Regions from separate parts of the Homo sapiens genome. Here region 1 is linked to region 2. The links are contacts of gene promoters, found by promoter capture Hi-C in blood cells and fetal thymus (Javierre and others, 2016). All regions are on one chromosome and are shown on one strand. The core of a region is centred on a gene start or on the middle of the fragment in contact, and the rest is flanking DNA. Distances in the headings are between cores, read along the strand shown. Region 1 overlaps KIF26B (kinesin family member 26B). Region 2 holds the start of SMYD3-AS1 (SMYD3 antisense RNA 1).

Evidence for each region. The method cuts DNA at HindIII sites, captures the fragments that hold promoters and counts their contacts. A CHiCAGO score of 5 or more calls a contact.
Region 1: a fragment that was not itself captured here is called in contact with the fragment with the promoter of SMYD3-AS1 in region 2 in 1 of 17 cell types (naive B cells); the score reaches 5.4 in naive B cells.

Annotation. Positions count from the first base shown.
Region 1 is chr1:245,214,338-245,219,998 of GRCh38, reverse strand. The region is part of intron 2 of KIF26B (kinesin family member 26B); the gene reads right to left. It overlaps KIF26B-AS1 (KIF26B antisense RNA 1), which reads left to right. Exons shown (of 5, transcript NR_151721.1): 3 at 3,696-3,861. Among named protein-coding and RNA genes, the nearest start is that of KIF26B-AS1, 17 kb to the left of the region's middle. RefSeq lists an enhancer at 5,545-5,661. The HindIII fragment of the contact is 2,200 bases long and covers 2,727-4,926 here.
Region 2 is chr1:246,105,648-246,111,259 of GRCh38, reverse strand. SMYD3-AS1 (SMYD3 antisense RNA 1) reads right to left here and starts at 2,634. Exons shown (of 4, transcript NR_183265.1): 1 at 2,543-2,634; 2 at 1,367-1,478. All of the region lies in intron 5 of SMYD3 (SET and MYND domain containing 3), which reads left to right. RefSeq lists enhancers at 208-707, 708-1,209. The HindIII fragment of the contact is 2,656 bases long and covers 1,801-4,456 here.

The sequences.
Region 1 (5,661 bases), core at 2,577-5,076, 890 kb after region 2:
GGCAAGGGAAGAAGCCCAGCAGAGTTTGGGCTGTTCGGAGAAGTCAAATAAGGTGGAATTTGCTAGGAACCCCCATAGTCTTTTGAGGCCTAGATATGGCTGTCCCAGTGGCCTGGGTGGGAGTCAGTGCTCTGTCCCCTGGCGCAGCCAACTCTTCCCTGGAAAGCAGGGAGCTGGCAGGAGAGGCAGTGATCAGGGTGAAAACTCAGGAAGACACACCTGGTGTTCTGGTTTCTTTCTTTGTTTTCTTTTTTTTGGGGTGGAGGGGACAGGATCTCACTCTGTTGCGCAGGCTAGAGTGCAGCGGTGCAATCACAGCTCACAGCAGCCTTGACCTCCTAGGCTCAGGTGATCCTCCCGCCTCAGCCTCCTGAGTAGCTGGAACTACATGCATGTGCCACCACACCTGGCTAATTTTTTGTATTTTTTGTAGAGATGGAGTTTCTCCATGTTGCCCAGGCTAGTCTGAAACCCCTGGGCTCAAGCGATCTGCCTGCCTCAGCCTCTCAAAGTGCTGGGATTACAGGCATGAGCTACCGCGCCTAGCTGCAAATACCTACTTCTATTAGAAACCAGAGCAGACTAGGCGCAGTGGCTCGCGCCTATAATCCCAGCACTTTGGGAGGCCGGGGCAGGCAGATCACAAGGTCAGAAGATGGAGACCATCCTGGCTAACACGGTGAAACTAAAAAATTAGCTGCGCGTGGTGGCGGGCACCTGTAGTCCCAGCTACTCGGGAGGCTGAGGCGAGAGAATGGTGTGAACCCGGGAGGCAAAGCTTGCAGTGAGCTGAGATCGCATCACTGCACTCCAGCCTGGGCAACAGAGCAAGACTCCGTCTCAAAAAAAAAAAAAAAAAAAAAAAAAAAAAGAGGTAGGTATTTGCTACCTCCTGTGTGATGACAATGCTTTCCCCTCTCAGACAGACACAGAGAAGTAACCCACGGTCAGAACAAGACACTCTTGACTCTTGGGAGAGGACATCTTCCCAGAGAGTAGATGGGGGCAGATGCTCCCTCCTGGCATACACAGTCTTGGAAGGGTCAGTGCCAACTGAAATGGCAAAGTCAGAAATGCCAACAAGAACCGGGGAAAGGGTTTCAGGTCTGGCTGAGTCAGCTGCCTGTCAAGCTTCTACAAAAAGCAGGAGTTAAGAGCCAATAACTTTTTAGTGGTTCATTCTGCCCCAAGCTCCCTTTTTTAAAAAGGCTCATCCTGTTTATTAATTCATAGATTTAGAAACATAAAGCCCCCCTACGGCAAGGTACCATGTATATTTGCTTATTAAAATTCTGAGCTAGAGCGCACATGTGAAATAGACATTGAAACTGTTTGTTCCAAGGCAGTCCCATCTTAGGCGATTCCATGCGGCACACTGCAGAGCTCCTGGGGTCACCCTGGGCTAGAAATGGGGCAGAAGAGACACCTCGGTTCTTGTTCTTCCATAGAGAGTTGATATTCAGATCTCCCGGCGGATTGAGTGAAAACCATCGGCCCCACACCCAATACCCTCCTGCTTTTTCCTCACTCACCCTCCTCTGCTCTTCTTTTATCTCTCAGATGGGTGGACAGGTAAACAGGGAGAAGAAAGACAGCCATAGAGTTCCCTTCTGCTTTTCACCTGAGCCCTCCCTTCCCCTTCCCTCCCTCAGAGTGACAACTGCTGCTACTATCCCTGTTTATCTTATGCTAACCAGACCAGGAGATGGGATCCATCTGCTGAGGGGACCCTAAGGCACCCCACTGAGAAGCCACAGGCACAGTCTGCCCCCGAGGGCCCGAATGTCACTGCTCTGGTGACATGAAAGCTGGAGTAGCCCCTGGGATTCCCAGCCTGAGTTCTGGGGCCCCCACCATGGCCTCTGGCCTCTGCCCGCTGCACAGGATCCAGACATGCTGGACTGTAGGTGGGCTCTCTTCAGAGTCACCAGGCAAAAAGGATAAAGAAAAATGGCCAAATACTGAGTCACCGCATGGGGGCTTTGGAAAGAATGCAGGACTAAGCCCAGTTCCACCAGCAGTTGATGAATCTCAGGCAGCTCATTTATTCTCTCGGTGCTTCTGTTCCACTTTTGTAAAATTCGGGTGACAAGAAAACCTAACCGGCAGGTTGGTGATGATCAAATGGGATGGCGCATGTGGGTGTGCAACTGCTGGCAGCTGTGACTGTTCTGCGGACCTGTGCTCTGAACTTTGGTTTCCTCGTCTGAAAGATGGAGATAATCATCTTTACCAGGCCAGCACTCAGGACTCTTGGCGAGCAAGGCGGGTATCGTGAGATTACAAATCAGGAATAATATGTGTGTCGTGATATTAAAATAAAACAATCGACCGGGCGCAGTGGCTCATGCCTATAGTCCTAGCACTTTGGGAGGCTGAGGCGAGCAGATCACCTGAGGTCAGGAGTTCGAGACCAGCCTGGCCAATGTGGTAAAAATCCCCGTCTCTATTAAAAATACAAAAAAAAATAGCTGGGCGTGGTGATGGGCACCTGTAATGCCAGCTACTAGGGAGGCTGAGGCAGGAGAATCGCTTGAACCCCAGCAGCGGAGGTTGCAGCGGGCCGAGATTGTGCCATTGCACTCCAGCGTGGGAAACAGAGCGAGACTCCGTCTCAAAAAAAAAAAAAAAAAAATTAACAAATAAAACAATCACCACCAGAAAAGAGAGTGAGAGTCATTTGTTGTCCAAATTCTAAAGAGAAATTTTTTTTCCAACTAAAAGCTTCTCTCCTCAATACGGCGTTTCCTGTTTCACTGCTAAATTGGGTGGAGGTTTTTGTTGTTCTTGTCATTGTTGTTGTTTTAACCATTGACACCCTTTTCTCCTTTCAAGTTGCATTAGTTTAGGGCAAATGAGACCTCAATCAGAGGGGAATTGGACATCACATTTGTGTCCCCAGATGAGGAGACAGTAATGGGGAACCTCCCTGCTGAGACAAATATCCTTCCCTGTGGGCGGGATGCCTCTGAGGCTGGGTCAGGAAGCAACAAAGGGAGCTCTCTCAGAAGCTCCAGGGACTGCAGTTGGCTCCCTGTGCTCTGTGTTGCCTCTCTAACAGATGCAGTAGCACAGTGATCTCAAATATGAAATAAGGCAAAAGTGAAACGATTTTATATTAAACACTTCAAAAAACTGCAGACGCAGTTGAGGCAGGAACGTGGTCCTCCTTTGAAGATCACTAAACCTAGCTAACTCTTTCAACACACTGATTTAGCCCAGAAAGAACCAATTTGCGAAAGAACCAAGGTCAAATATGACATTCCACATTGCAGAGCCGGGTGATGCCTATTTCCAGGGAGAGCAGCTCCCCATCTGACTAAACGAGCTCTTCTTCATTTAAAACCCAGAGATGATTCCAGGGAACATAAAGCATACTTTCCGAAAGGCTACAATACATCAATTTTTCTTGCCTGCGTACCATCTAGATTTAGCCACTTAGTTCATCTTAATAAACAAGTTACTCATTCAAAGGAAAATAAATGAAATGTTTTGCCTTGAGGGACAGTTTTATTTTTAATAGTTTGGTGCTACAGCAACAGAAGTAATATTCTGCCATCTGAATTGCCTTTTGTTCTTCGGGACTTCTTGAGGGTGGGGTGGGGGAGGGCGGGGTAAAGGTTGCAAGTCTCTGAGTTTACCCTGTTCATAAACATAAATGCAAGCTCCTTCTCCTGCCCTTCTTTTTGTTACAGATACATCAGATGTTGCAAGGAGCTTATTTAAAGAAATGGAAGTTTATCGTCATGTCAATGCTGTATCTTTGAAGTTTTTGTGTGTGTGTGTTTTTTTTTTTTAAAGCAAGTAATTCCCATAAAAATGGAACTCAAGGAGAAGGGATATCTCTTAAAGAAATAACAGGTAATATGCACAACTATGATGCTGGGGTCTGATTCCTATTACTTATTTATTTTTTAATTAATTAATTTTTTTTTTAGAGACAAGGTCTCATTATGTTGCCCAGGCTGGACTCGAACTCCTGGGCTCAAGTGATCCTTCTGCCTGAGCCTCCCTAGCAGCTGGGACAACAGGTGCTCACCACTGAACCCAGCTTTGACTTCGTTTAATATAAAGTCAAATTTTCTTTTAATATGTAATCTTGAAAGGAAGATGAGGTCATGCCAACATTATACCACTCTAAACAGTAGAGAATATAGGGGCACATTTTCAAATTATCTAAGGAACTCACATCATTAGTCCAAAAATATTCTGATCATAGAAGCCTCTAAAAAAACACAAAAGCACAAAGACAATACACAGTCACCCAATTTCTTCTATCCCAGCTTTCCAGATCCAGCACATACCCTAAAAGGGGCTGTAAGCCTCTCAGGAGCAGAGACCAGCTTCGATTCCATTTTCCACACCCCGAGCCCAGCATAAGGCCTGGGGCAGAGCTGACATGGAATGAATCTATGTTGAAGGAATGGATGCGTTAACTAACAAATGAAATGAATCCTCCAGAGGAGGAGAAGCCTCCACTGGCTTTCAGAAATGGAAGAGGGTAGAGTTCTCTCTCCACAGGCCCTGAGGAGCAGCATCTGCTTCATGTCTCAGAGCTGTGGCCTCCCTGGTCTCAGAGAGGCCTGTTCACGCATCAGGCAGCTCTGTCCTTCTCGGGAACTGAATCTACTTCACACCAGTCCTGGAAAACACCCTCCCAATAGCACGGTGAAGGGAGGTTACCTGGACCGTGTCATGCTGGGGCCGCTGGCTGGAGGGCACCTGGCTGGTCACCAAGGAGCCGGGCCCTGAGAGTACTCGGCCACCCTTCCTCCCATGGTGGCTGCCATCTGGCACCCAGAAACCCAGCCTGAGGACGTTTTCCATCATAGCCTGAGCCAAGCAAGAGAGGACAAACAGCAGGGAAAGAGCTTTAGTCTGGGAAGGGAAAGAGAAACTTCCCAGAGAAACTTTGGAAGAGAAGCTTAAGGGAAGGGTTAGGGAGATGTATGCAGAACAAAGTAGATAATCCTACCCGTTCTCCGTGGCCCAACTGACATGCCACCTCCTTCATCAAGTTTGCCCTCATTCAGCCGATCTCCCAAGATGCCTCCCTCTTCTTAACTCTGACTACTCTCATTCTGCTGCTCAGCATTTCCCTTTTACCGCCTACCATATTCTGTCTTCTATGTCGTTATTTATTTACTTATTTATTTTTCAGACGGAGTTTTGCTCTTGTAACCCAGGCTGGAGTGCAACAGCACAATCTCGGCTCACTGCAACCTCCACCTCCTGGGTTCAAGCGATTCTCCTGCCTCAGCCTCCCAACTAGTTGGGATTACAGGTGCGCACCACCAAGCCCAGCTAATTTTTTGTATTTTTACTAGAGACGGGGTTTCACCATGTTGCCCAGGCTGGTCTCAAACTCCTGACCTCAGGTGATCCACTTGCCTCACATGTTCATGTCCTGTACTATCCCATTTTAGGCTTGAGGCTGGGCTCTTCAGCACACCTGCACTGGACGCCCGCTCAAGGACTTGCCCTCTGTCTGGCAAAAAGCCTTCAAATGGGATGGTAATGTGTTATTTATTAGGCCAGATTGTGGATACAGATTGTTTGTTACATTCTTTATGCTCCTTTGTATTTCTGACAGAGTTTATGATGATATTAAAAAAATGTTTTTAGAGGCAGGATCTCACAGTGTTGCCCAGGCTGGAGTGC
Region 2 (5,612 bases), core at 1,385-3,884:
GGGATCCCTTGGAGAGCATCACTGGTGAAAGCACCTGGATTCTATTTAGAAAAACTTAAGTATGTAAGTTGCCTTCTTTGGGGGATGAAACTTATAATGAACTATTGTAGAGGGTATGAAAGCCCACGGCATGTTTCTATCATATACTATATATATATATGCTATACTAAGATGTTATGCATGGGTCAGGGTCCTTGGTAAGGCTCACCTGTCATTTCTTATGTAGTTTATATTTGTTTCTCTTTGCGCAAGGATTTGGTGAGTTATCTTATGGACAATGAAAGGAGAAATGTCCTAATGCAGAGTTCGCTCCTAAGTTTAAATGAGAAATATCTAAAATCCTAAACCATGAACATGGTTCATGGTTTAGAACCCTTAAAATGGAATTACAGTACTTTTAAATTGGTAGGTGTAAGGAACATGGCTGCACTGCAGCCAGGCAGGATGGGCTGAGGTAAACATCCCGGGTGACTCAGCAAGTCTGTAGCGCAGGCGCGCAACTCCATGTGTAATATAAACAGCTATGTAGCCATAACATGGGAGGGCCATCACTTGGCTCTTTGCCACTGTTGTCTTTAAAAGGTATAATTGCCCTGGTGACACTGTGCAGGCGTGCTTGCACCCAAAGAAAGAGAGAGAGCACCAGATCTGTCTGTCTTGCAGCGGGGAGCCAGGACACAGCTCAGCTTGCTTGCGCTCAGAGGGAAAGAGTTAAGCTGTTGACCCCAAAGGGAGAGAGAGCCAGCAGAGATCTGTGCTTGGGAGTGGCTGGAACAAGCAGCCGAGACACACAGTGTAAGAGAGCTGCTGAATAAAATTGTATTTCACCTACCCGTAGCCCCCTGAGTGTTCTTTCAGCTGTCTGCCATTCATCTACCCACTCCCTTCCGGCCTCAGCATGGGCTGGAACCTGACCCTGGACCTAACAATGGGGATCTTAGGGACTTAAGAGATCATCTAAATGAACTCTTTACAGATGAAGAGACTGAATCCCCAATGGTTAAATGACTTGTCTAAGTCCACACATCTAGTTAGACGCTGAGCCAAGACAGAACCTGATTTCTGGTTTCTAGATGTGCACCCCTTACTCAGTGGCATGTACTGTAATTCACAGTTTCCATTCACTTGTTGCCAAGGTCTGCCACTTCCGAGAGTTTCACAGTTTTGGTGTAAGTGTACATTGCCAAATGAGAAATAGCTTGGAAATATAACTGAAGAGACATTATCTGTTGTGACTGCAGCTGAAGCACCAACTTTTAACCAGTATTAGCACTGCTTATTTCAGCTCCTATCCTTATCTCAAATAATTCTGCCTTCCTATAACACATGATGGGGACCCCTGGGAGCCGCCAAAAAGGACACTTACTCTGAGGTCTTGCCCAGGTCTCTGCTTCTTCCTCCTTGTTCCCAGATGGCAAACGGACATCCTCATAGTAAGACTGGGCTGCTTTCCACCTGCGCAGCCCCATGGTAAGCACCTGCAGCTCCAGAGGGAATTTATTTTAGTAAAACAAACAAACCTGGAGACCAGGAGATCAATTATCAGTAGTTTGGTAATAATTGAAAACTAGGTCAGAGGCTTCTATTCCTTTTTCCATGAGAGCTGGATATGTGAGGTTGTTCTTGATGAAAGCTGAATTTTTAAATGCAGGTTAATGGCTTTCTTGGAAGCCAGCAAGCAATTAAGGTTTTCTCATCCATGCAGAAATTACAGCTGCAGGGGGCAATTTTTAAAAATTCCTTTGGATTCTTAGAACATACTATATTTATTTATTTTCCCTTAAATTCTGACCTTAAGCTTAAAAATAAGTTTGTTAATACTAACGTTGTTTTCCCTTGAGCTAGCTTTGAACCTCAAATGAATTGCAAACTGCGAAGTGACTGCTGTAGGGCTACTCTTCAGTAAGCTGGTCCAGTTATATGGTAATGAATCCATTTATAAAAAAAATTGTATGTGAGCTGTTTCCAAGGCTATTATAGTATTTCTTTATCAGACTATACATAATTTTACGTTTGTAACATGGTACAGTTCCAACTGAATAGGCAGTAATTTTCTTTATTAGAGTTGCATTTTAGAGTGGTTCATTCATCAGATTTTTATCAAATATATTCTTCGTGTCATTCATTGTGATAGGTTCTGGAATATGATTAAGAAATGGTCCCTGAACTCCAGGGGCTCACAGTCTAGGAAGAAAAAAGACAAATAAAATTATACCAATATAATGAATGCAGTTCCATGGCATATGAAGAGTGTTATAGAAACACAGAGCAAAGATGTAACCCTACCTAGTGTCAAAGAAGACTACACAGAAGATGGTGCATTAGAAGGAAGAGAAAGAATTGGCTGCACCAACAGGAGGAGGGGAAAGGACCTTCTGAGAAAGAGAAGAGTGTGTGCAAAGCAGTGGAGGCCTCAGGGAGGATGGTGGTCTGCTAATACTGAGTTTAGTGTGGTTGTCTTTGTCTTACGTTGCTTGCAGGGAATAAAGCTAGTATTTGCTTTGCTAGCTGGACTGAGCTGGGCTATACTAAGTTGTCTGACCTTTATCCCGTACACAACAGGAACTACAGGAGGTTTTCAAGAAAGGGAGTGAAGTCAGATTCATAGTTGAGAAAAACATTCTAGTAACTAAGTGGTGAATAGAATGAAGAATGGGAGCACTGATTGGAAAGCATTTATAATAGACGGTGGAGGGCAAGTTTTAGGAAGCAGGCAGTGATTGTGATGTCAGAATCAATTTGTATGATATTTAAATAGTCCACCCGGAACTCAGTAAAGCAAAGATTGTTGAAGAGGGTGAGCTTGAGAGACTGGATGGATGTTGATAACATTAATTGTGTGAGGGTGTGATCTCTTTGCTGAGATTTTAAGTACGGTAATTTTCTGATGTGATACCTGTATTCATAGCGTAACCTGTGACCCTATTTGGATAGCCCTTATGCCTCTGTATTATGATTGTCAGTCACTTCCCTGAACTATAAACTTCTTGAGGTCAGAGATAAGTTTTAGTGGTTCTTGTTCCACAGCCTCTGACACAGGGCTTAGTTATGTAATAGGTGCTTGGTAGATTTTGGATGTTTAGACGTGGATGCATCAGCCATCTACTTAAGAATTCCTCTTTCGAATTCTTCCTTTGCACAAGAAGACCTTTGTTTCTTAACCCAAAGAAGACGAGCTCTGTAAGTCCGTTATAATTTTCATTTTATGGCCAAGTTTCTCTGGACTTTCATTTTCCAGAAACTACCTATCTTAGATTTTGCTCTTTCCTTAGTGACAACTCAGTAAAGTTCCTATTGTTCAGAGATTACATGATGAAGTAGATATATACATGTGTGTTTTTTCTTCTTTAAGTTTGGCTATTTGAACCTGTGGCTCTGTGGTGTAAACAGTAATTCCTTTCCAGATTTATTTATTTGGAAGTTTTTGGGTCTTTAAAAATTACTCCTGTGTTTCTGGTCTTGAGTTAAATCCACTTATAATTGCCCTAGGGGTTCCCATGGCATCAGCACAGCTGGAGGTCTGGTGGGCTTTTGTAAATGGCATTTGGAAGAGTGATTCATTTGCCAAAGCATTAGCAATCTTTTGTATTGTTTCCATGTGGTTTTTGTCTAAAGAGACAAGTGCTGGGATTTTATTTATTTAATAAACTTTGTTTGAATGAGCTAATTTCCCCACTGTCCAGAATTACTAAGGGAAGACCTGAGCATTTATTTCAAGGACTTATTCTATCCATTCCTTGCTTCAGTGGGGAGCAGTCACTTCTGTAGCCACCAACTACCTGATAGTCTAGTCTTTTCTGTGATTAAATTATAAAAATAATCTCTTTGTGAACTTGTCTGCTTTTGGTATAAGGTCGCATATTTAAAGAGCAATCTGTGATGAGATATGTTGGCTTCATTTTCTGTTTGTTTTCTAAAGAAAGGAAAAATAGATACATTTCCATTTCAAAATTCTTTTTTTTTTTCTTTTTTTGCGATGGAATCTTGCTCTGTCACCCAGGCTGGAGTGCAGTGGCGCAATCTCGGCTCACTGCAAGCTCCGCCTCCCAGGTTCACACCATTCTCCTGCCTCAACCTCCCGAGTAGCTGGGACTACAGGCGCCTGCCACCACGCCTGGCTAATTTTTTGTATTTTTAGTAGAGACGGGGTTTCACCGTGGTCTCGATCTCCTGACCTTGTGATCCGCCCGCCTCAGCCTCCCAAAGTGCTGGGATTACAGGCGTGAGCCACCGTGCCCGGCCTTCAAAATTCTTTTTAAGAGCCTATTATATGCCCAACTCTTGTATTACTTTCTCTTTTTTCACGTTCACACCAACCCTACTTGAGAGCTGTTTTTCTCCTCACTTTGCTGTTGAGAACAGTGTTTCGGAGAGTTTAAGGAATCTATACAAGTCCCTTAGTAGTTCATATCAGAGGTTGTTTTACACCCAGGTTTTCTGTCATAAGACAGAAGCTTTGAAACTGCCTCCATTGTCCCCATGGCTCCACATAGGCCAGAGGGCTTCCAGATGCTGATAACATTGATGAAGAGGGAAGGTCAGAGACTAGACCTCAGTTGGAAGCTGTGGCAGTTGTGCTGTGAAAACCCACCAGAGGGAAGAGACGTTTCAATTCTTCTTTCATAACCACGGAAATCCTAAGTGACTTGTGGCACCTCGGTATATTAGGACTTCTCATTTCAGAAAGTTAATGGTCTTCTCTCCTCTCTGTCAGTGTGATGTATGTAACCACTGATTAGCTGACTCATTTGTTCAGTTGGCAGATACAGAGGCGATCAGTTTACTCGCCTTGCTGTTTAAAAATCATGATAATTTTGCACTCCCTTTGAGAAATGGGTAAGTTCAGAAATCAGTTTTGGGACTATCTTTATTTAACTAAGGCATAAGTGACTGCACCTTCAGCAAATTTAATTCCTGGCTTCAGACTGCAGTAATCTTAAATGAGACATTTTGTTGTATGCTTATAACCTCAGGGATTTTATCTGCTGCCGTCGTGGTCTTTTGAGGAGGATTCTCCTGTTGCAAAGGATGTCTACAATGTAATGAATGGCAAGAAGTATCAGGAGTATTTTGAGTGCTTAAACCCATCCGAGGTTTATTAATTTTCCGGATATGGGTTAACATGGTTCCATGAATAGGCACAAGGCCTAGAGAGTAGGATTAGGAAGGTTTCCAGGGATTCTGAACTCATGTCAAGCAAAACTGGCATGCTGGGCAGCTAAGTCAACTGAATAGGGAAAAGACTTTGAAAGTGCTTTATCTCACTGCATAATGTTTGTCAATTTCATTCAATTAATTTACAGCTGCAGGGCTCATGAGGCTGAAATTAAAGTTTTGTAAAGTTTCGATAAGGAGGCAGCCAAACAAGTTTGATTAGCAGTGGATGTTTTGGAAATGAGTTGGCAGCCATGCAAAAATAGAGGGTTTGAATTTCAGGAGGCACGTTGGCATGGCAGTGCCCATTTGATTAACCGTGGAAAGCCCATTACTTTCCACCTGGCATTTCGGGCATTTCTTTTCTCTGTGTGTCTTCTCTGAGGTAACCTCTAACATTGGAATAAACATCTTTTTAGTTAAGTCTCATCAGCCCATTGTTCTTAGTCTGTTTTATT